Regions from separate parts of the Homo sapiens genome. Here regions 1, 2, 3, 4 and 5 are each linked to region 6. Evidence: promoter capture Hi-C in 16 types of primary human blood cells and fetal thymus (Javierre and others, 2016). All regions are on one chromosome and are shown on one strand. The core of a region is centred on a gene start or on the middle of the fragment in contact, and the rest is flanking DNA. Distances in the headings are between cores, read along the strand shown. Region 1 overlaps HECW2 (HECT, C2 and WW domain containing E3 ubiquitin protein ligase 2). Region 2 overlaps HECW2 (HECT, C2 and WW domain containing E3 ubiquitin protein ligase 2). Region 3 overlaps HECW2 (HECT, C2 and WW domain containing E3 ubiquitin protein ligase 2). Region 4 holds the start of LOC105373821 (a long non-coding RNA gene). Region 5 overlaps SLC39A10 (solute carrier family 39 member 10). Region 6 holds the start of DNAH7 (dynein axonemal heavy chain 7).

Region 1 (4,085 bases), core at 571-3,070, 280 kb before region 6:
GCACTCCAGTGTGGAACCCAGGGCCACTGCGACTGTGTGCTCAGCCCCTAGCGGGAGGGAGTATGTGAGCAAGTGAGTGTGGGGTCTGGCCGGCCATTCCAACCACTGGTACAGCAGCAGGCTCCATGCAGAGCTTGTGGCTGGACCAGCCATGTCACCCTGATGGGAATGCGGTGGTGCCCAGGCAGGGGTGGCCACAACCCTGAAGCCTCAGAAGGGGTGTTACAATGTGGTAATTAGCTCTTTTAGTCCCACTATCTGCAGCCTGACTGATGGTGGTGTATTAACAGCCCAGTTAGCTCCTAGCCCCACTCTGGCCTGTGGCTCCAGAGCTGGGGCTTGGCCCTGATGTTGCTTCCTGTTGCATGGGGTGGCTGCCCTCCACTGGCAGAGGGCAAAGGGCCACAGTATTAACAGCCTTTTGATTACTTGCATTCGGTGGGTCCTGAGTTCTTGCCCCACATCCAAGAAGAATGAGGTCATACTGACAATTGAAGGGTGATGAGGTTGGAGAATTATACTGAGCAGTGAAACAGCTCTCAATGGAGAGGGGACAGGAAAGTAGTCTCTAACCCTAAGTCAGGTCATCTATCACCCTAAGTCAGGTTGTCTCTGCCAGTGTGGCTGAGTCTGAGGTTTTTATAGGCACAGGATGGGAGAGGGACAGACCATAGGCAGTATTGGAAAAGGCAACATTTGGTTGGTTAAAAAGCATTATTCAGAAAGAATCAATGGGGAAAGGGTGGGCAAACATGAACAGAGGTTCTCACTCTGAATCACGGCTTTCATCCAGAACCAGCAGTGTGGTCTTTCAGCCTTCAGGCTGTTTTTGGCTTGAAGGTGGCATTTCATCAGGGATTCGCCCCTATGTACCTAGGCATTTATCTGCCTCTTGTCATTATCAATATCTTCCATTCAACCAAATATTAGCACCTACTATGTGTCAGGTTTTATTCTAGGCACTTGGGATACATCAGTAAACAGAATAGACAAAATTCCTTGACCTCTTGGAGTTTACATTCAACAGAAGAAGACAGACAATATATTTAAATGTGTAACTAGATTCTTATAGAGTATGTGAGAAGATGATAAGGATTATGGATAGGAAATTGAGCAAAGTAAGATAGTCTGGGAATGCTGGAGGAAGACTTGCGTTTCAAAATGAAGCAGTCAGAGTAGGTCTCATTGAAAAGGTGATGTATAAGCCACAAAATTGAAGGGAGGAATTGAGCCATAACAGTATCTCGGGGAAAGTTCCAGGTGAATGGGATGGCCAGAGCAATGTCCCTGGAGCCAAATCCTGACCACACCTTTGGGGACATCAGGGAGGTCAATGTGGCTGGAAGGGGGTAAGGAGCGAGGCGGGGAAAGTAGGAAAGGGTGAGGTCAGAGCTGTAATTGGAGGGAGTGGGAAGCCATGTCCTGTGGACACTGCAAGCCATCATAAACACTTTGGATTTCACTCTGAGAAGAATAGGGAGCCACTGAACAGAAGAGAGACATGTTTCTATATGCCAGTGTGACGTGTGTTTGAAATTGATTCTTTTGTAAGCCATTTCTGAACTGCTCCTTATTATCTGGTATACTGGGCCATGACTGTAACTCTTGGGAGGGATTTACTGAAATGAGTCCAAGTGTTTCTTCTCACTGGGCTGTCAGTAATTTCTTTTCCTTGTCAAATGAGTGTTTAATCAAATAGTTTAGGACCAATTGTTTTTATCTAGGAAGTTGCTGAGCAGAGCCTCCTCCCTTTGCCTAGTACATCTAGAAGTGTGAGTGTGCAGGTGACCCCTCAGGGGTGTGGTTCAGACTTGACTATATGTCACCCAGTTTGGATCTAGTAAGACATTTCACATTCTCCAGTTGGCTCCCTGCTTGTGATACCCTGCTATAGAGGATACAGCAATAAAACATCTCTCTTAAACTTGATAGTACATATTGTGAGTTCAACAAGTGTGCCCTGTGCCTCTCCACTCTGCCAGCATTCCTTTCCAGGGCAGTGATGAGGTCCATGTCAGAGATAGTGTCCTGCACACCTTTCAGTGCACAGATATTCCCAAGGCCAGACCTTGCAGTCTTGTCATTGGCTCTTCTAAGCCCGTGTTGTTTTTTTCTACCCAGTAATGTGCTGGTGCCCATTTCTGCATTCTCGGGCACACTGTTCTCAGCAAATCATTCTGGTGCCATTCAAGTGGCTTCAAAGCCGTAGTCGCCAGTAGGTGCCCTCTTAGCAGGTGGCCTGGTGGTGCCATGATTGTCAGACACACTCTTGTCTCCATTCAGAGAAGACTTTAATATAAAGAATTGGGCATCTAAGGAGATTGTGTTAAAAACTAATGCTAAGTTTGCAAATTCATAAGGAAGTTTGCCAGTGAATTCTCCTAGCACTTAATAAAATTGGTGCTCCATTTGGTACATTCAGTTGTGAAGACCCACCTGTCTTCCACAGTATAGCTCAGCTCTCAAAGTCGTCGTCACAGTTTTCTCCTCAATGTAGCTCTGGGATTCCAGTAACTGGCCTGGTACTTGCTGGTAAATTTGTACCATTTTAACAGTCAAGCAGTCCCTCTGAAGGGGTGTTCTTTGCCCAGGTCTAGAATGATAATCTTGATTCAACTCCTAGCTTAGTATTGCTCTCCAATCCCAAATTCCAGACAGGCATCTAATTCCCGAGTGTACCCATAATAAGATCAAGCATCTTTATGGTTCCAATCTCAGGACATAGTTGTTTTCAATTTATATACAAAAGATAATTGAAAATCAATTTAGAATTTATGCCATTTTTTAAGAAAATGTAGAGAGGAGATGGAATTACTTTAAAGCAAAAGAAAATTTGTAAGTATTATTTTTCTGCTCTCTGGCACAATCGGTCACATGGCATCTTTCTCAAAAAATTTCTCGTCTATTTTTAACTCTCCTGGGTTGATTGGTAGGAGGGTAAGTGCTTTGGATACTTTTTTTGTTTCTATTTTATTTCAAGTACCGTATGGAGGTTTTGGAGTTATTTAACATAGACATAAAAACATTTCCAAATCTAGAATATGTTTGGATATGTCTGATATGTCTGTTCATGTTTCCTATATATTCTCTTATTATCTTAAAAGGATAATTTTCTGGAAATCCAAGAATCATGTACAGGAAAAAAATTAATCTTTTAAAAATAGTTTTCACACCCATCTCTGTGTGTGGAATATTATGGGGAAGAAAGAACTTGAAAAAAAATTTAAAGTTTTTCTGTTTAAATTATTTTAGCTTGGTGTGTCATTTTTTTTAAAAAAAAAGAATTAGTTTTTTAAAAGACTACTCTTTATAATTACATTGTAGGTTAATATAATTATCAACTTTTCCAGGGAAGAAAAGGATAATCTCCTGAGGCCCAAGCAAAAATGGTAACATTGACCTCTGAATTCAGCTTTAAATATGTTGCTTCTGATGACCATTCATAGAACCAAAAATGTGAACTGTGGAAGGTAAAGAAATACATATGTCTAGGGAATGGATGAGGAAACAATGTCTGGCTTAGATTTGTAGACTTCTCAAAGGAGATCTCCGTAAACTCTTCCAAAGACACTTTAAACCTAACAGCTCAGAACCATATGAATCAAGCACAGACACCAGGATGACTAATCATTCCTCCTCTTTTTTCCTCTTTTAACAAAACATGGTTACCTTTACCATAGTAATTTTCGCATTGCATTATATATCTATGTGCCTTATCCCGTCAGCTCCTTATGGCAGGAAATATCCCCCCTTATCCCGTCAGCTGCTTATGGCAGGAAATAGATGCTTATGGTCTTCATAGTAGTCAGTCAATAAATACCTGTCAAATGAATGAATGAATGAACAAGGTAACAAATGAGAGGGACAATGGTCAAAGACATATGCATGGTCCACAGCATTGCTGTGATTGCTCAACTTCCCTGGAAATAACCATGAAGCAGAATTTTTCAAAATGTGGTCTTTATGGTACTTGCATCTGAATCATCTGGTTGGGGTGCTTGCTAAAATTCAGATTCCTGAGCCCAGACTCAAACCTACTAAATTCAAAGTCTCTGGAAGAGCAGCACAAGAATTAGCATTTTATT
Region 2 (4,120 bases), core at 658-3,157, 370 kb before region 6:
CATTCTCCTGCCTCAGCCTCCCGAGTAGCTGGGACTACAGGCACCCGCCACCACGCCTGGCTAATTTTTTCTATTTTGTAGTAGAGATGGGGTTTCACCATGTTAGCCAGGATGGTCTCAATCTCCTGACTTCATGATCCGCCTGCGTCGGCCTCCCAAAGTGCTGGGATTACAGGCGCGTGCCACCAGGCCCGGCTCGAAGACCAGGGAATGGCTCTTGTCAGTGTTATGGGGCCAAAGCTTGGGCTCTGAGATATCTGAGGTCCTCACTGCCTACAAGGCTCTTTTGTTTCTGTTAGGCGCTATGCTTTGAAATACTGAAGATGCTGATTAAGTAGAAGGGGTGGTGGGAATTATGGGAGTATTAAAACCAGTTCTTGATATAATTAAAGTAGAATGTAGTCACATAATGGTATTAATAACTAAACTTGACCAAGCACTTACTATATGCCAGACACTGTTTGAAATGTTTTATCTGTACTGATTTATTTAGTTCTCTCCAAAATCCTATGAGGCAGATGTTATGTTCTTCCTGGATAGGTGGGGAAACAGAGGGACAGAGAGTTAAAATAAATTGTCTAAGATCATAGAGTGATAGAAAGTAAAGATATAACCGAAATCCAGAAGTTGGGCTTCAGAGCTTTTTCTCTTAGCTGCTGTGCTAACCTGTCTCTCTGCTTAAATACAGATAATTTAAAAACAGTAATGTGGGCATACATACATGTTATTTCACTTTTTTCTAGAGAGGAATAATTGTCAGTATTTCTTCTGTTGTGATTTTAAGCTATAAGGGTTGTGGCCTATTTCTTTCTTTCAGGGAAGTAGTTTAGTTATATACAGCCTGCATTTTTTATTCAACTACAATGTGTTAGGAGTTGATTATTTATAGTTCTTGCTGAAGCTGATGTGCTGCATGACTCACTGAGTTTATAAAGAAATAATGGCCTGTTGAAAGTCAGTAAAATGAAATTTCTTGAAACTATCAGATTAGAAGTTGACCTGTATTTTAAGCTTCATAGATTGGAGATTTTCTAATAATTATGGATTCTTTTATGGTATCAGAGTTACCATAGACCACATACAGAAAATAAGTGCCAACTTTATGAAGAGAGATATGGGATTTAAAACCATTGAACTGAGTAAATCAGCTTATCTGTTCATTTTTATTTCTATCCTTTTCACAAAAGATATCTTGTCCAAGTTATTTTCATTCAAGAGATAGTGCTCAAAGTATGAGATCTACTTTATGGCAGAAACTATTTGAATAAATACATTTGCAAGTGCTATAAACCTAGCACAGGAGCATGTCCTCTTCATCCAAAGTGTCTGTGAACTCAATGGGAGGATGGGAGAAAAAACCCTATCTTCCCTTGCCCTCCTCTCAGACTCAGTAGCCAAGGTCGTTAGCTGTCATGTAAATATTGCACCCAAGGTTACTTTGTTTGTTTTTTAAATGAAAACTCATGCAGTGGGTGTTGAAATATATCATATGAGAAGTGGTAGTGTGAGTGGCAGAAAGTTTTTTCATAGACTTCCCAGGACCCAATAGGGTTTGCCCTGAGATGAAACATGGCATAATGAAGATGGTGGCAGGTACCAAGATTGCGGAATAAATGTGAAATCCATAAATTCATGAGTGGATTATGTAGTTCTGAAAGGGATGGTACAGAAGAAAATCAGATCAATTCTATGTAAAGCTAGTGAGATCCGAGTGAGGTAATGTAAACCCATGGCAAACAGGTAAGGCGCTGGTAGATAGAACCTTAGTTGTGCTGCGTTAAAGTACAGGAGGTACTGGAGTCTCTGTCTGTATCTGGAAGTATTTTATAACTAGACTCAGTGAGCCAAAAAGGGGCTGTCTAAGTTCCAACAGGGAAGGCCTTGTTCCTTTGGAACCAAAGGAAATAGCTTATCGGGAGCCAAAGGAAATAGCTTATCATGATCCAGATGGCCCAAATAATGTGGACCAGCCAGAAAGTCAGGATGGCAAGGGGCAGGCTCAGGAAAGGGACTGGAGATAAAAGTTATTTCAAGAAGTATCTAGGAGAAAGATGCTTACTCTTCCTGCATCTGTTATTTAACAAATATTTATCGACATGTACCGTGTAGCAGGCACTGTTGTAGACACTGGGGATAAAGTAGCCAACAAAACAGATGAAAATCCCTGCCTTTGTGAAACTTACATTCTTGTCAGGGGAAGTAGACAATAACCAAATAAATAAGTAAATTGTATGGTACGTTAGATCACAAAAATTGCTATAGAGAAAAATCAAGAAAGGAGGGATGGGGAATGCTGGGGTGCTGCAGTTTTAAATGTGATGGCCACTGTATTTAGGAGAAGAGGTAACATTTGAGCAAGCTCCTGAAAAGATTTCAGTGAGTTACATTCTTATGCTAAGGAAACTGAGCAAGTGAACTTGTACTTAATGGTGTACTTCAACTGTATTTAGCATGTGTCTCGCTATTTTAAAATTTCATTGCAGCAGCAAATAAATATGTGTGTGGGATGGAAAACGAGAAGAGGATGCCATGTTTGAACGTGGGGTGTTTGGGAAAGGATAGACCTAAAAGGGATGGCAAGGAAATCCTCTCCTCCTTGATTGCTAGGAGAAAGCTGTGCCAAGTGAAATCGAGGGTCGCAGGCATGTGACAGCCTTTGCCATCATGTGACTTGACTCTATAGAAGCTGTTTCTGACATCATCATTTAACAGTAGAATAATAGGTTTTATTTTGACAACAGAAGATTATTGCATGATCAGGCTTATTAAACACCCTTTAAGGCTTTATGTCTGGAAAGCTTAAATCTGATTCTTCGTATTGTAGCACTAATGTTTTATGTTTATCTGTCTCTTGCAGCTTTGTAGGCAGCCAATCCCAGAGAAGCAGACGGGATGGCTAGTTCAGCCCGGGAGCACCTGCTTTTTGTGAGGCGTCGAAATCCCCAGATGCGGTACACATTGAGCCCAGAGAACCTCCAGAGCCTTGCCGCCCAGAGCTCCATGCCAGAGAACATGACCCTGCAGCGGGCCAACAGCGACACCGACCTGGTGACTTCTGAGAGCCGCTCCAGCTTAACTGCCAGCATGTACGAGTACACGCTGGGGCAAGCCCAGAACCTCATTATCTTCTGGGACATTAAAGAGGAGGTGGACCCCAGTGATTGGATTGGACTTTATCATATAGGTGAGTCAAGTGGAATGGACTTGCATGTGACTCAGAGCATACAAGTTTTTAGTTTGACATTTTTACCATTCTGTATTTTCTTCTGGAAAAAAATTCACATGCACATATACACATAGCAGATTCTGGGAATTTATTTTTTTTCTTCTTTGGGAGGAGGAGATTCAACAGTACATTTGCTTATATTATGAAGTTTGTGGTTACATCTCTACCTCATTAAATGTCAGAACCTTCAGAACCTGCAGGTGTTACAGTATTTTCTCTTAGGTCGATGCAAAAGTAATTGCACCAATAAAACTTCACCTTTCTCTTGATCAGCAGTCCCATTTTAGAAAGAGATATCTATTAACATTTACTAACATTTTTAAACTGATGAAAGAGACGTGTAGATTTAGATGACATATTTTAAAAGCTCTGTATTTTCTAAAATTTGAGTTTTGTTAAGAACTACTTGTAGCCTAAGATGTCTTTTTATTTTTAAATTTCATGACTCTGTTCTAGATCAATTAGGGGAAGGAAGTGTCATGTTTTCCTGACAAATGACTTATAAATAATTGCTATTTGCTTTAATAAAAACAGTTCAGCTCTGTTTAGCTAATTTACGCTTGTTGTTCTTAGTGAACTTACATTTGCTGAGTGAGCGATGAATGAAACATCCCAAAAAGTACGATGTCTGCCACATTGGAAAGCAAAAATCTAACCTACCAACTAAACAAAAAGAAAATTGAAATCCAACCCAATAATAAAATCTAACATTTTCCAAAGTTGGAGAACTTTTTCATTGAATGAAGAAAATTCTCTCCAAAATTTAGCATCAGATATTAGGAAGACATTGTTGCTTTCAATGTAAGTTGTAAGCCAAGCATCCCCCCATCACCCCGCCGCCCTTTTTTTTTTAACGAATAAATCAGAGGAAAAAAAGACCCATCTGTTTATGGC
Region 3 (3,609 bases), core at 614-3,113, 260 kb before region 6:
CAGAATTCTTGCTGATGGCGGGGCCAGAGTGATCAGATATCGCATGGAGGTTGGTGGGAGATGAGGAGTTCGATCTGATATCAAGGGTGATCACATATTGAGGGTGGGGATTGACTCTAAACTGACTTACCAGGGATTTTGCTAAAACTAAACTCTATAAGGATGGAGATAAAAGCCCAAGGCCTGCCTAGTTGAGCAGAGAGCTCCAAAGAGCCTGAGTAAAGTTTGCTCAAGGAAATAATCTTTGTCAGAAGAATTTAATCTAAACTTCAGAATTAAAATGTGGTTCTATTTCCCACATTTGGGTATATTCTGCCTTCAATTCTGTTGACTTCTTTTGACTTATTTTGCAGAGTAATATGAAGGTTTTTCTTCCTAATGTACCACAAATTGTGCATTAATTGTACATAATTTGAGAGAAAGGTCTAAATTTGCTAGGTGGTTTATAAATTACTGGCTTCTTGTGAGGTATAATTTACTCAAAAGCTTTCAGGAAAAGGTTATCAGTATAATAGCACTGCAAATTCTTATTATTGCTAATTATAGTAGCATGTGCCATGTACCTGCAGCACAATAGAACACAAGCCTACAAGGGAGATAGGACTCCATGTGGATTTTCAGAAATACTTGACGAGAGAGCATAATTCTGTATATATGGGTAGGTCTGATATGAATCAATTGTTTCGTTTATTCTAGGTTTTCCTAACAAATCTGAAGGAACTTGATGTTTGGTTTTTAACTAAAGAGAATGTTTAATATAGTAATAGTAATATATTTACTACAAATCAACTATATTCTTATCAAAGGGAAAAAAAGACATAGTTTGATTCATAGTTATTGGAAATTTTGAAGCTTATATATTTTTTATTTGTGGTAAAGATTAAATTTTAGTCTTTCCTCCAAGAATCAGCATTTGTGTCTCTGTTCCAAGATTGGGAAATGAAAGGACACATGATACAATACCCGTTTGATGCAAAAATCATTGCATTTAGGAACATACATGGTTTCCTAGTCAGATCCAGTGGCATCATATGCTTCTGAAACTTCAGATGCATGTTTTTTCTTTTCAGATGGGGGCAGAAGGCATGGAGGGAGGTGCTTCAGGAAACCTGCATTCTCGAAAACTTGTTAGCTTTACATTGTCAGGTAAGAATGTCTTTAAACGTGACATCCAGTTTGAAAGTGTACAGTTTCGAAGGTATGAATAGTCACTTCTTTCTGCAGACTTTCGTATATGATATGATGATATGTGAACTAGTTTTGGGGGGTCATACTTCTGAAAATTCAAGTATATCTCTTACCATGATAAATTAATTATTAATATAAATTCAGAAATTATTTCTTCTACCAAGTTTTCTGGCGATAGACAGTCTATATAACTATGTATAGTTACTTCAAGAAAAACTGTAACGTAATGTGCTAACCTCACTGAGGAGCTTTGATTATTGAAAATAATTTATTCTTACTTCAGCTAGAGAAAGAAAAAATTTGAAGACTGGAAAACAAAAGCCAATATACTTCTTTATCTGTGGAGGAATACACATGCAAATTGGAAAGTGGATAAGCCAATTATTTTTGGCTTGTTTTCTGATTAGTAAAATGTTCAAATTGCTTGTATGTTTACCATACAAGTAAAGCACGGCTTTTCAAGTTATGAGACAAGACTCATTTCCAGTTTGTAAGTTTGATTTAGTTAAAATCAGTAACTGAAAAAAAAAGAATAATGTCAGAGTTTACCACTAAAGGGATTTTTTTTGGGTAAAGCATCAATTTATATAAACTGAAAATTTTCATATACAATAATATACATCCCTATATTTATGTGTAGTAGGTTGCAATGTAAAATGTATTTCATACATAGGACACTGTTGAAAAAGTTTGAAGGGCACTGATTTTAGAAAATAAATTGGTAGTCATAAAGTCAAGAATAAGAAAATCCATATTTGAAATAGACTTTTAAAACAGATAACTATGCTACAATACATAGAAAATAAAGTCTAATGGATCTCCTTCACTGGAATATGTTTTGTTTTCATTTTTCTGTAGTTGTAGTACTTCCAAAATTTAAATTAGATCCACTTTTCTTGATTGCAAAAAACAAACAAACAAACAAAAAACGTGTTGTGAGAGTGAGCGTTAAAAGACCTGATCCTGAAACAGACTATTCCACAAAGCATAATTACCACATATGACTAAAGTGTACACATCAGTTCATTGCTGGCCCATGGCCTTCTGAGTATCTGTGCTTGGTTTTGCATGTTTCTCCTTTTCCCATATGAGCTTGCTTTTTTGCTTGGCTTCCCTGGTGAATTTCAGCAGCTGTAAACTAGTGACTTATGGTTCAAATTTGGCCAATAAATTTGTTTTGTTAGGAACCATCAGGGTTTAAAAAATATCTAGGTTTGCAGAAGGGCACTAAAAATAACCACTGCCTGTGGTACTATCTCCCTACCCCTCTTATCTGCCTGTTTCCTAAAAACATTTTGGCTGGACACCTGTGCTTTAAACCTTCACAGTATTGAGGGTCTGAAGCTACTAAAATCCCTGGTGACAGGCAGGAAACAATTTGTCGACCCTGATAGCTCAGAAAATTTAGAGTATGACCACACCATGGGTTTCTTGTTTTTGTTTTTTTAATTTACAGGTAAAAAAAATTTTTTTATGGTGTACAGCATGATGTTTTGATATAAACCATGGGTTTCTTAGTTTAAAATTATTACCCTATGCTTTTAGGTGATCCGTATCATTCTAAGCATGACACACACTTATTGGTTTTGACTCCAGATGGGATGTTATTAACTGACTATGTGAGAATGACCATCTGCAAGTTAAAAATCCTAGGGCATTTTCCTAAAAAGTAGGAAGTAAGCTTTGAGGCACAGCCAAATGCTTCTTCCTTACACATTTCTTCCAACATCGCACCTCTATTCACATGGAGGCTAGCTACCTAACATCTGTTTTATTTCTTACCATATAGCCAGACATTTGCAGACAGTGTACAGAAATGACTAGGAGCTGAAACCAATTCTATAATGTTAATTCTAAAAATTAATCTGGTTGTAGCATACTAACAGCAGATGATAATATTTATCTGAGAACATTTAAGCACTTTAGAATGGCTGCCTACAAATGTTCCACTCTTGATTATCTATGGATAGGTAGGGGCACAAATACTTGAATTTTATGGCTAAAATTAAAAATGTATTTTCATTAATATTTTAAACATGCTGCAAATAAGGCTTTATTTAGGATATTTAACACGTCAAACCTTTGTGACTTTGAGTCCTTCTTTGGCCTATTATATGGTGTGGATATTTGTGAGCAATAGCATATGTAAAAGACAAAAAAGAAAAGATCAGAAATGAGATGGATAAAGGGAACTGAATAATCAGATTAAAAATCACTGGTAGTTTATTGTATTTATTAAGGAAGATTTATTTGTACAATGTCCCATTGTGGAAAAATTTTGTATCAGGCTTATCTAACAGTGATATTATTTATCGCAGTGACTTAATTGTCTGGTGGAATGCTTTTTGTTCAAAGGAATATTTTTTGTGAATGATTTAGCTCTGTCAGACCTTGTGGCATTCATTTCTGTCTATGTTACTC
Region 4 (3,704 bases), core at 548-3,047, 390 kb before region 6:
GAATAAGACAGGGATTCACACTGAAGGAGGTGGAGGAATATTCGTGTTCTGTAAGCAATAGGAGGAGTCATGTGTATTTAGGAAGGGAGAAACATGCGCATGCACAGCTGAGCCTCATCCTTCACCAGGGGACCCATGGTTTTTAACTATGGCGGCATTAGCATGATCCAGGGTGGAATTTTCGGATCTCTGACTTCAAAAGATGAAGCAGAGGATGCAAAACCCCTCCCTGCACATCCTCCGTGGACTGGCCAGAACCACTCTGTGGTCTGTGGTCTCTTATCAAGAAGGAATGCTGGTTGGTTATTTTGTTGAAAACCACAAAAAGGAGGGGCGGTTTCAGGAGGTTGATTGACATCAGGGGTGGAGTGGGGCTTTCCAAAGGGCTGGTTTCTGTTTAATCCTTACGGAGGAAATCCTAATGTTGGTTATGGAGGGAGGGGACATCATGAGGCACGTCTGACCTCCTGTCTGGTCATGGTTGGGAACTGAGTTTTCAAGGATTTCTGGGGTCCCCTTGGCTAACAGGGGGTCTGTTCAGTAGGTTGGGGGGGCTTAGGATTTCATCTTTATTTTTTACTGTATCTATACAACCTAATTTTTAAACCACTCTCCAGTACTCTCCTTTATACTCAAATACTCTAACCTGTACTTTTCCCCCCTTTAACTGTTTTCTTCTCCTCATGCTAAGGCTCATTGGAGTTTCTAAGCCCACTTCTGTATTTCTCATAGTCTACATCTCCCATCTCTCTTCAGCTAAGTCTTCTCAAGCTTTAAGACTCAGCTCAGTGTTACTGCCTCAAAGATGCCTTCCCTGTCTAATCTGATCCGAAGTGGTACTCCTTTTCTGGAAATTTCTCCATCACTTATGTGCAGAATTTAACATTTAATTATACGTATAGTCTTGTGGTGTTTCTTGTGCTGATTTGTTTGTTTGTTTTTTTAGCATTATCTCTCCCAGCTGGACTACTCAGAGAACTACTAGAGAACATGGACCAAATCATTCCTTATTCTGTAAATCCTGCAGTACCTAACATGGAACTGGACATATAATAAATCCTTAATAAACAACTAGTAGTTAATTAGTCATGTGAACATATGAGTTTTAGCCAGTGTGTTTACACTTATCTTTTTTGTTGTTGTTGTTGTTGAGACAGAGTCTTACTCTCTTGCCAGGCTGGAGTGTAGTAGTGCAATCTCGGCTCACTGCAACCTCCTCCTCCTGGGTTCAAGTCATTCTCCTGCCTCAGCCTGCTGAGTAGCTGGAACTACAGGTGCACACCACCACGCCCAGCTAATTTTTGTATTTTTAGTAGAGACGGGGTTTCACCATGTTGGCCATGATGGTCTCGATCTCTTGACCTCGTGATCCACCCGCCTCGGGCTCCCAAAGTGCTGGGATTACAGGTGTGAGCCACCACGCCCAGCCTACACTTGTCATCTTTATCATCTGGTTTCACAGTTTTCCATCTGGAGCTTTTTAGAGTCTTGTATGATTTGCCTCAGTACTAGTAATGCGAAGTCACATATTTTCATCCCCTTGGGGTGTGTGTATGTGTGTGTGTGTGTGTGTGTGTGAGTGAGTGAGAGGGAGAGAGAGAAACAGTTAAGATCCAGAGACTCCCAGCATTATGAGACCTTTCCTTTTCAGAGCCTGGATATTTCAGGTGTAGAATTTAATAGAATTGGTAGAGTGCACAGGAAAGAGATAGTTCCCAATATTTTACTTTTTTAATAATTCTTAGAGACAGGGTTTTGCTCTGTCACTTAGGGATGGAGTGCAGTGGCACAATCATGGCTCACTGCAGCCTTGACCTCCTGGGCTCAAGTGATCCTCCTGCCTCAGCCTCCTAAGTAGCTGAGACAATAGGCATGTGCTGCCACACCCAGCTAATTTTTTAATTTTTTGTAGAGATGGGGTCTCACTATGTTACCCAGGCTGGTCTCGAACTCCTGGGCTCAAGCAGTTCTCCCACCTCAGCCTCCCAAAGTGTTGGGATTACAGATGTGAGCCACTGTGTCCAGCCAGTTCCCAGTATTGTAGAGTATGGTGACTTTTAAGAATTGTGGCTATTATCCCTTTTGATTATTTGTTTAGATCAAATACCATAATGCTTTATTGATAAATACTTTGGCATATTTGGACATACTTCCTAAGTATAGCGTGCTTGTGTATATAATGCTTTTCAGGTTTTGTGTAGTAGCGGGTATGAGTATGCTCTGAGAAAAAGAAGAATAGAAGTGAAAGACCTGGTTATACTTATTTTTAAATGAATCACAGACTTACAAAATTTGTAGAGCTAAGAGGTATCTTGGAAATCATATAGTCCCGCTCCTTCATTTTTAGGGTCGGGAATATAAAGGACCAGTGTGGTTGACTTACATAAGGTCACAGTAGTAGTAAGGAATAGCACAGTACTGTGAATAGGCTGAGATAATCAATTTATATTATTTCTGGATTTTCTGACCCAGTTTGAGGAAAGTATTGTGTATTTGAGAAACTCACACATTCTTAAAAAGTAATTTTTTAAACAGCTTTTCAAAAGATCTTTCATATGCTAAAATATTGAACAACATGCTTGGAGTATAGTTAAGAGGTGACAGTACCATGTAGTGGGCAGGTAGTTAAGAAATCTACATCCTAATTCCAGCTCTGGTACTTACAACCTTGGAAAAAGTCGTCCAGAATGAAGAAAGTCAGTTTGTATTATTCAAAATGAATGGATCAGGCGAGATTCTCTCTGAGGGCCCTTTTAGTTCAAAAATTCTGTGTAAAAGTGAAGCAGTTGTAAGCCATTGAAACTTGATGTGATCAAAGCTTTATGACATCAGAGCAGAGACATATGTGTAGTATCTCTCCAAAACGTATCAGCAGCTCAACATATAGAATTTCATATCTTGATTCCATGCCGTACCTACTCATTAGGCACTGTTGATTCTTTCCAGATACTTTCTATTTCTTAGGCTTAATTTGGATGCTCCTTCTTTGCTTGAAGCTTGGTACAGGAATATGAATACCAGGAATAGATATATATGAAGCAATAAACTTATTTGATAGTCTTTTGGCTCTTCCAAATGAATAGTTCACACATGTGTTAGATGTGTTGGTGTATTAAAGAATGAAGAAAACCCGAGGTTGCTTAAATTTGTAGCATCTTTTACTGTAAGGTACTATAACTGCTCTGTGGGCTAGTTTTGTTGAATTGGTATGTTTTGCTTGATCAATTTCCCTTATTTGATATTCTGGAAAATCTGTAAAAAAGTAAATCCGGAGTTTCTTAGCCAGCCTTACTCTAATTCAAGGAAAGTGTCCCATAAGAGCAGTAAAAAAGAAGACCATCTGGACCCACTTCAGTGTCATTGTACCTTGTCCCCTATCACTGATGCTAGTATATGGTTACTCTTATTTGCTGATTGCAGTGGTCTCCAAGTAATCAATCTGTGACCAGCCTAAGCTCAGACCATGTTTGCAGTGAAGCTTCCCCAACCTTTCTCCAGAAGACATATGGTCAGTCCCAAGGAGCCATTTACAATCCATATACAGAAAGTGCTTATGGAAGATTGTGTAGCAAGGGCAATGTGAAGCCAGTAGTGTGGCAATACTTTCCTTGCTGGGATAAGGTAAATCAGTGATAGGAGATAATGTATATAAGGCTCATAGCTTAGAGTCTGGCTCATTTATAAATGTTCAGTAAATATGTTCT
Region 5 (3,692 bases), core at 46-2,545, 380 kb after region 6:
ATTTCTCTGCCACTTATATTCTAGCAAAGCACTCTCCAAAACCTTTTCAGGAGGAAACAGTAGAACAGGAAGTATAAGAATTACAGCACAGTGGTTATGATTATATGTTGTAGAAGGAGAATACTATAGTTCATAGCATGGCTCTGCTACCTGGCAGCAGTTTGTGTGACCTTGGGCAAGTTACCTGACTTATTCTCTAAGCCTCCTTTTCCTCACCAAATGAAAGTAAACAGAAGTGCCTGTATAGTGGGTTTAATAAATTAAAAGAAATATCCTTGTAAAAATGTTTAGTACAGCACATGGTAAAGTCCCAATAAACATAGGTTTTTGTTTTGTTTTGTTTTGAGACGGAGTCTCACTCTGTTGCCAGGCTGGAGTGCAGTGGCGTGATCTCAGCTCACTGCAACCTCTGCCTCTCAGGTTCAAGCAATTCTCCTGCCTCAGCCTCCCGAGTAGCTGGGACTACAGGCCGCACCACCATATCCAGCTAATTTTTTGTATTTTAGTAGAGAGCATAGGTTATTATAATTAATTTATCTAGTCTAAATTTATTTTCCTATTGCAAAGATATTAACCAGAAATAGAAATGTAGGTGCCTAGAAGACTTTACTTTTTATGTAATAATATTTCCTTTTACTTGTATCTCTATCTCAAATAAAATTCTTATACATTGGAATGGGATGTCTACCTTATTCCTATGCTATGAAATGTTTAAAAATTCTGTCCTCTCAATCCTTTATTATGCCAGAATTCAGTTTTAAGTCCATATTCATATACATCATTTTGCTCATTTTAATTACTATCCTCTAAAGCCACTCTGTCTTTGGCATTTCATCCAGAACTGTGTTCACAGTAATTCCGTCATAGTTTTTCATTACTTCATGGTAAAAAAGTTCATGAAAATCCAACTAATTTTGAGAACATTCATTATCGAAGTATACCAGGCTGACTGATACATTCACATAATGATCTTCAAAGACACATTTCAACAAGTATCTTTCCTGGATTATAACTGAACGCTTATAGACTAATATTAAGCAATTGTATTCATTCAATCAACATAAGAGCTTAAATGGTTTAGTCACTGTATTAAAGCAACTAAAGTCCAACAAAAACAGATTAATTCAATTATTAAGATCCCCCAAGATCTATACTATGAGGGAGACATCTAGAGATGTCAAGGAAGGGAACATAATTTAGCCTAGGATGGTCACTAAGTTTACCCAGAAGGGCCAATACTTGATCTGAATCTTTGAAGAATCGTAGTCGTCAGTCAGGCATGGGGGTTTAGAAAGTGAAGAGGGAGAAAGGGATGGGAGAAAAATGGCACAATCTATTATCAGTAGTTTATTATGGTTAGAACTGAGAAAAGAGGAGAGAAATGAATGATGAGCGTTAAGAATGTCAAGGCAGGCAGGGAGGATCATATTACGGAAAGCCTTGTGGGCCAAGTAAAGGGCTCTGAACAATATAGCATGATGCAGTTTCCTAAAATGTATGAGAAAAAAATATAACTAGCACATCACATCAAATCCATGTTCCAGAGATATAAAAAATATATATTAGTGATAAAATACAAAGTATTAAATAGTGTAAAGATATATGGGAAAAATCACAAAGGTGATACCAGAACTAACTTAATTTGGAAGACAATGTCATAGGGATTAGATACTCAGAGGTTTCATCAGACAAACCTTAGGGTTTGTGGGCTCTGTCAGTTTCCTTATCTTGTTTTTAAAAACAAGGATCATAATATCTCCCTCATAGGATTACTGCCAAAATTTAGTGAAAAAAAAATGCATTTAAAACAACACATAAGATAGCAAAATGGTTACAGGACTAAATCCCAGTACTACCACTTATTAGCTCTGAGATATCAGAAAAGTTACTGGGAAGAGTAACATTACCTATCTCATAAAAGTGTTGTGAGGAGTAAATGAATTCAGCTTAGAACAGTGTCTGCGATATGTGTTTAAGTAAATAAGATTTAAAAAGTATGTATTAACAAAATGTTAGCTATCACTATAAAGAAAAAATTCTGTGTCAGAATCTCTTTGCATTTTAGAAAGGTAAATCTAGTTTAAGTGCTAAGAATGTCTTGCAAGGGGACAAGAACACAGGCAGGGAAGGTTATGAAGTTATTTCAACAATCCAATAACCAAGAAAATCCAGAATTGTTATGACAGAGTGGATGAAGTTAGAAGATACTGAAGAGATAGCTTTAACTGGACTTCATACCTGATTATAGAATGGGAAAAAAAGGAAAAGAAAAAAAAGAGAAAAAGAAAGTCAAAGAGTTCTAGATTTTATCAAAAGAATGAAATTAATGATATTTGGGATCCATTAAGGGGTACAAATTTTGTGTGGAGTATAAGTTTTGAAATATTAAGTGGGAGGTACCTGTGAACACCAAGGTGGAGCCAAGTGGGTACGATGAAAAAAGAGCCTAAGAGAAATTTAAAAATAGTTTTGGTTTTACCCTAGTTGAAGCTCTCTAGAAATACCCATAATAAAGTTCACATGTCAAGTTTGTTAGGCATTTCCCAGACATTCCTGGAGTTTACACACAGTAGCTTCCCTTTTTATGTCTTTAAAATTTTAATCATCTTTGCTTTTCAACAGAGGCACCCTGATAAATGTTAAGTAATTAGAAGAACAAATAACTTTATTTAGGGGGTCCCATTATTTATATTTGCTCATCAAAAATAATCAACTTATCACAAATCTATATTTCATTTTTAATCTAGTTCTCCGTCCATAGCAAAATATCCCTTTGTAATATACCAGAAGAGATAAATAAAACACATTGTGCCCCCGTCTTCCCCCAGTTTCTTTTAAATATGCATATCTAAACCTGATTAAAATATATTTAAAGTCTGACAACAAAAGAAAGTCAATAATTTAGGATTCTTTTCTAATTCAACTATAGTTTAAAAAGTAAGTACAGGTACTATTTTAAGGAGAAAAAACTTAAAATCTCTCTTACCTGATGCCCCTATATTTGCCTCATCTTCAGGAACCAGGTTTTTATCCTTATTTATATCTTCAACTAAAAGTTTGTCAAAATGCTCAATACAAAGTCTGCTGTCGATTTGATATAACAATGCAGGGCAAAGGTATGTAAATAAATCAGTTGAGATGGGAGAGTTGGCACCATGACCATAGTATTTTAATAACTGAGTGACGTTCAAACACTGCAAGGAAAGTGATAAAACAAATTAAATAAGAGTGTCTTTAAGGAGATTATGCAAAAAAATAAATTACTGCCTAAGAAATACTCTAAATATTACTTGCAAATAATCTGTAATACATAGATATCTATTACAAATAAAACTTTTTAATAAGAATTTGTAATAGGGATACACTCAACTATATTACCCAAAACTTTTCATGGACTTTAATAATTTTTCTACTCCAACACATGAAAGATAATGACTTTCTGTCATGGATAAGGATGACTCACAACTATATCCCCAAGACTCTCGTAGGATGATGAGAAAAATCATTTCCCTATCAAATTGCAATCATCGGTGACTCAAGATCCTTATCTGTGAAACAGATTAAATAGATTTAGAGTACTTTAATGGCTTATATAGACATTTTCATTGCCAAATGCACTCTAAAAGCATATTGTTTTGGAAAATTCTAGCCCAATGTCGGTTGATAGGAACAAAACTGGAAGATAAAAATAA
Region 6 (4,150 bases), core at 929-3,428:
CAGTTATAATGTCTTCAAGGTTTATCCATGTTGCAGCAGATGTAGCAATGTATCAGAATTTCCTTCCTTTTTAAAAGGCTGAATGTATATGCTACATTTTGTTTATGCATTTGTCTATCAAGGGACATTTGGGTTGCTTCACCTTTTGACTATTGTGAATAATGCTGCTATAAATATGAGCATATATATACATATATGTATATATATATGTATGTATGTTTGTGTCCCAGCTTTCACTTCTTTAGGTTTGTACCAGAAGTGGAATTGTTGGATCATAATATATTTCTATTTTAATTTTTGGAGGAACTGCCATACTGTTTTCCATACCAGCTGCACCATTTTACATTCCCACCAGTGGTGCACAAGAGTTCCAATTTCTCTACATCCTCATTAACACTTGTTAATATTCTGTACATTAATCCCTCATCAGATTTGCAAATATCTCCTTCCATTCTGTGGACTTTTTTTTTTTTTTTTTTGAGACGGAGTATCACTGTGTCGCCCAGGCTGGAGTGCAGTGGTGTGATGTCGGCTCACTGCAACCTCCGCCTCCTGGGTTCATGCCATTCTCCTGCCTCAGCCTCCCGAGTAGTTGGGACTACAGGTGCCCACCACCACACCCGGCTAATTTTCTGTGTGTGTTTTTAGTAGAGACAGGGTTTCACCATGTTAGGCGGGATGGTCTCGATCTCCTGACCTCGTGATCTGCCTGCCTCGGCCTCCCAAAGTGCTGGGATTACAAGCGTAAGCCAACACACCCGGCCTGTGTGGATTGTCTTTTTACTGATGAGAGTATTCTTTGATGCACAAAGGTTTTTTATTCTGATGCAGCCGAATTGTCTATTTTTTCCTTGTCGTTTTGGTGTCATGTCCAAGAAATCACTGCCAAATCCAATGTCGTGAAGCGATTCTTCTAAGTTTTCTTCTAAGAGTTTTATAGTTTAAGACCTTACAGTTACATCTTTGATCAATTTTGAGATAATTTTGTATATGATGTTTTTAGGTAAAGGTCCAACTGCATTTTTTTCCGCATATGGACATTTAGTTTCCCCAGCATCATTTGTTGAAAATAAATTGTTAAGGTCACTATAGTCTTGTAGTAAGTTCTGAAATCAAGAAGTGTGAGTACTCCAACTTTGTTCTTTAATTTCAAGATTGTTTTGGCTATTTATGACCCCTTGGGGTTCCTTGTTAATTTCAGGATGGAATTCTGCCATTTCTTAGCATAAAACTTTTCAGTGGAGGTCAGTTGCTTTTGACATCCAAACTCCTGCCCTTTTATAGGGTCCTTTAAGATATATCACCTGCTTATCACCTCAGCTTCTTCTCTAGACTGGCTCCAATCCCCTTTATCCAAACCTACTCATCGACCTCTCAGAACCATTTTCACTGCTTCCAATAGCTATGCTCTCTTGTCTCAGGCCTTTGTATGTGACCTGCTTTTTGCCCGGCATTCTTTGCCTGGCATTTCTTCTTCCTTCACATTTCAGCTTCCACATCCCTTCCATGCCCTCCATGAGAAAATTAGTTGGTGCTTTATGTTCTCACTGAGGACTGCCATTCTTAGCACCGTCTCCACTACACGGTAAGTGCTTGGCTTGGACACCCCCCAGCCTGTGGCGAATGGATGTCTTGGTCACATTTGTGCTTAGCACACCACTTTTCATGTAGTAAACCATCTGTGAATGTTGGTTTCAAGAATTGTTGGAAGGTTCCTTTACTGGTATTCTTCCAAAGGATAGTTTTCTGGAGTGTGGGAAGAGTCAACAGCACAGGGGTTGGAAGCACATGAATAATGAAAGGTGTTTACTGGATCCTGCCTCGCATTACTCCACTCGCCCACATTAGCAATGAAATCTGTAATCATTTCATTCCAGTGTTTCTCCGAGACCTCTGAGGGGTTAAGGCAGCAGTCCTGGGCATCCGGCTTATTTAGAAGGAGGGTGCGGAAGTGTGAGGATCTACTTCAGTAATCAGAGGATATTGGAGGAGACCCACCCAGTGTCTTTGGTTATTCAACGCACACCTTAGACCTCACAACACTGGCAGCAGCGCCCCAGAAAGCTCCTCTTGCGGGACCGCGCGCCAGCTTCCGGGTCCAGCCCCAGAAGGAACAGATGACCGGAAATGGAACCTGCGCGGGCCCGTTGCTTAGCAACAAACGCTGCCCGGACGCTAGACGGCTCTGGTGCGGAGGGAGCTGAGACCGCTGCAAGTCCCGGGGCCCTGCCTCTATCGTCCTAGGGGTTCCGCGGGCAGGAGCAACCCAGAAGCACCGGTGAGGCCAGCGCGTCCTCGCAGCCATGAGCAGTGAGCAGGTGAGAGGGCTGCTCTTTGCCAGGCTCGCCGCCGCCGCGACGCTTCCCAGGCGTTTCGGAAGTGGTGGAAGCCCCTCCTGCCTAGCGAACTCCCCAGCTGTGACTCCGCGGTGTACAGCTTCCTTCACCCCACTTGTGGCCTGGGTTACTGAGCGCTTTCCGTGAATGCCCTTATAAGTTCCCTTCCCAGCTGTTTGCCCTTGGTCGTCATAACAACCAAACCTAGCCGCCTAGCGGCGCGCCAGCAGGGGGAGCCACAGCCCAGAGCACCCCCAGAGTGCTAATGGCGGTGTGCTTGGGTGAGAGGCGGCTCTGCGAGGAGTTGCAGCGGGTTTGGGTTCTAAGGTGGGAATCGAAGCCAACTCCTAGCCATGTGACTTTGGACAAATCTCTTAGTCTTTGTAAGCCTTAGTTCTCCCACCTCTTATGCAGAGCGGGGGAAACATCAGAACAACTTTTCTTCTTTTTGAGGTTGTTGTCAATTTCAAATTAGATACCATGCCATACCATAACTATACAATATTATACTATACATGAAAGGCCTTGGTAAGTGACATATGGCACTTCTTAAGATGATATTCCATGGTATGTGATAAAAGATGCACTTTGCAATAGCTGCTTTTCTTTCTCTTTTTTTCTCGTTTTTTTCCTTTCTGTCTTTCTCTCCTTTTTCTTCTAAGAATTCTTTCTTTATTGAACTTAAGAGCAACTAACAGAAAGGCAGAACAATGGTCAGTCGTCTTAATATCAGCACAGAATGGGAAGATATTAAACGTGGTCATTATTCTGGCTAGCTAGAAAATAACTCTAGCTTTCTACGTAGTGATGAATAAGGAAAAGGACTCTATAAACCTCCTGGAAGAAAAACAGTTGTTTTTAAGCCTGCAAATTTCATTTAGCTTTTAAACAATATTAAACGGTAATTATTTCTTTTTTATTGCTTTATAATGCTTTTTTCGGTAGTGTTAGAATTTATTGTGGAAACAGTATTAAAACGGATTTAGTCTCCTATCCATTGAGTTGTACATTACTAACAGAACTATGTGAAGATCCTGATTGGTTAGTTCATCAAATAAGTAATTAATACCTGAAATGCTCAAGAAAATTTGGTTTGAACCTTTTTAAAAAAATAAGTATAATTTAAGAACTAAGAAATGGACACTGATTCATATGCTAAAGTATAATTAGTATTGGTATTAATAATAAAAGAGTAAATGACAAGCAAAAAACAAAAAGTTCAGATACAAGTAACCAAAAACACTGAGCAATTGTTTAATAGATCTTACTAGTTTTTTTCTACATGATATTAATGTAATCAGATTTAAAAAATAACATTTGTTACTGTCACCATTATTATATATTGAGCAGCTTCTTTGCTTGTTGCCCAAGTTAGTCTTCGGCCAGATCTTGAACCATATCCTACGTTGTTAGAGTTTAAAATACACTTTTACCACATTTCCAATGGTATTTCTCAATAGCTGTTTTTCACAATTCCCCTAACTTACCCATCTACAACTAAAAAGTATCCACAAAAAACCCACCAGCCGTTAAGTTCTAAATTTTGCTTCATCTTTATAAAAGTGATGTTGGGAAATGACACCCTAGTCTCTCACTCCCCCTCCAGAAAGGTTGTGATTTATTGAAGAGGCAGCGGGATCTTAAAAGAATGGACATGATTTCCATTTTCCACTTACTATTTTTGAACAGCAGAGGGCCCTCTATCACTGTTTTGGTTGATTTGTAATTTAAAAACTAATCTTGAGAATTTCATTTATGCTAATTTAGAGTGTAGCTTTCCTTTGGAAGGATGAAAGTTTTTATGTTTTAACCTA

What was found. Contacts are between HindIII fragments. The CHiCAGO score rates a contact against its expected background, and 5 or more counts as called.
Region 1: a fragment that was not itself captured here is called in contact with the fragment with the promoter of DNAH7 in region 6 in 3 of 17 cell types (activated CD4 T cells, non-activated CD4 T cells and fetal thymus); the score reaches 7.8 in activated CD4 T cells.
Region 2: a fragment that was not itself captured here is called in contact with the fragment with the promoter of DNAH7 in region 6 in 1 of 17 cell types (activated CD4 T cells); the score reaches 5.8 in activated CD4 T cells.
Region 3: a fragment that was not itself captured here is called in contact with the fragment with the promoter of DNAH7 in region 6 in 3 of 17 cell types (non-activated CD4 T cells, megakaryocytes and naive CD4 T cells); the score reaches 7.5 in non-activated CD4 T cells.
Region 4: a fragment that was not itself captured here is called in contact with the fragment with the promoter of DNAH7 in region 6 in 2 of 17 cell types (naive B cells and total B cells); the score reaches 5.3 in naive B cells.
Region 5: a contact is called between a fragment that was not itself captured here and the fragment with the promoter of DNAH7 in region 6, in 2 of 17 cell types (megakaryocytes and M1 macrophages). The highest score is 5.4, in megakaryocytes.

Annotation. Positions count from the first base shown.
Region 1 is chr2:196,350,378-196,354,462 of GRCh38, reverse strand. The region is part of intron 2 of HECW2 (HECT, C2 and WW domain containing E3 ubiquitin protein ligase 2); the gene reads left to right. Among named protein-coding and RNA genes, the nearest start is that of HECW2-AS1, 92 kb to the right of the region's middle. The HindIII fragment of the contact is 6,415 bases long and covers 1-4,085 here.
Region 2 is chr2:196,432,196-196,436,315 of GRCh38, reverse strand. It overlaps HECW2 (HECT, C2 and WW domain containing E3 ubiquitin protein ligase 2), which reads left to right. Exons shown (of 29, transcript NM_001348768.2): 2 at 2,858-3,184. The coding sequence starts at 2,893. LOC105373822 (a long non-coding RNA gene) reads right to left here. Exons shown (of 3, transcript XR_923746.4): 2 at 445-532. Among named protein-coding and RNA genes, the nearest start is that of HECW2, 160 kb to the left of the region's middle. The HindIII fragment of the contact is 1,787 bases long and covers 1,014-2,800 here.
Region 3 is chr2:196,327,112-196,330,720 of GRCh38, reverse strand. HECW2 (HECT, C2 and WW domain containing E3 ubiquitin protein ligase 2) reads left to right here. Exons shown (of 29, transcript NM_001348768.2): 5 at 1,071-1,146. Among named protein-coding and RNA genes, the nearest start is that of HECW2-AS1, 69 kb to the right of the region's middle. The HindIII fragment of the contact is 2,017 bases long and covers 855-2,871 here.
Region 4 is chr2:196,456,311-196,460,014 of GRCh38, reverse strand. The region is part of intron 1 of HECW2 (HECT, C2 and WW domain containing E3 ubiquitin protein ligase 2); the gene reads left to right. LOC105373821 (a long non-coding RNA gene) reads right to left here and starts at 2,754. Exons shown (of 5, transcript XR_007087827.1): 1 at 2,668-2,754. The HindIII fragment of the contact is 2,047 bases long and covers 774-2,820 here.
Region 5 is chr2:195,683,201-195,686,892 of GRCh38, reverse strand. It overlaps SLC39A10 (solute carrier family 39 member 10), which reads right to left. Exons shown (of 10, transcript NM_020342.3): 3 at 2,987-3,194. Among named protein-coding and RNA genes, the nearest start is that of SLC39A10, 28 kb to the right of the region's middle. The HindIII fragment of the contact is 4,899 bases long and covers 1-3,692 here.
Region 6 is chr2:196,066,865-196,071,014 of GRCh38, reverse strand. It overlaps DNAH7 (dynein axonemal heavy chain 7), which reads left to right and starts at 2,178. Exons shown (of 65, transcript NM_018897.3): 1 at 2,178-2,318. The coding sequence starts at 2,304. RefSeq lists enhancers at 2,267-2,356, 2,837-2,886. The HindIII fragment of the contact is 14,129 bases long and covers 1-4,150 here.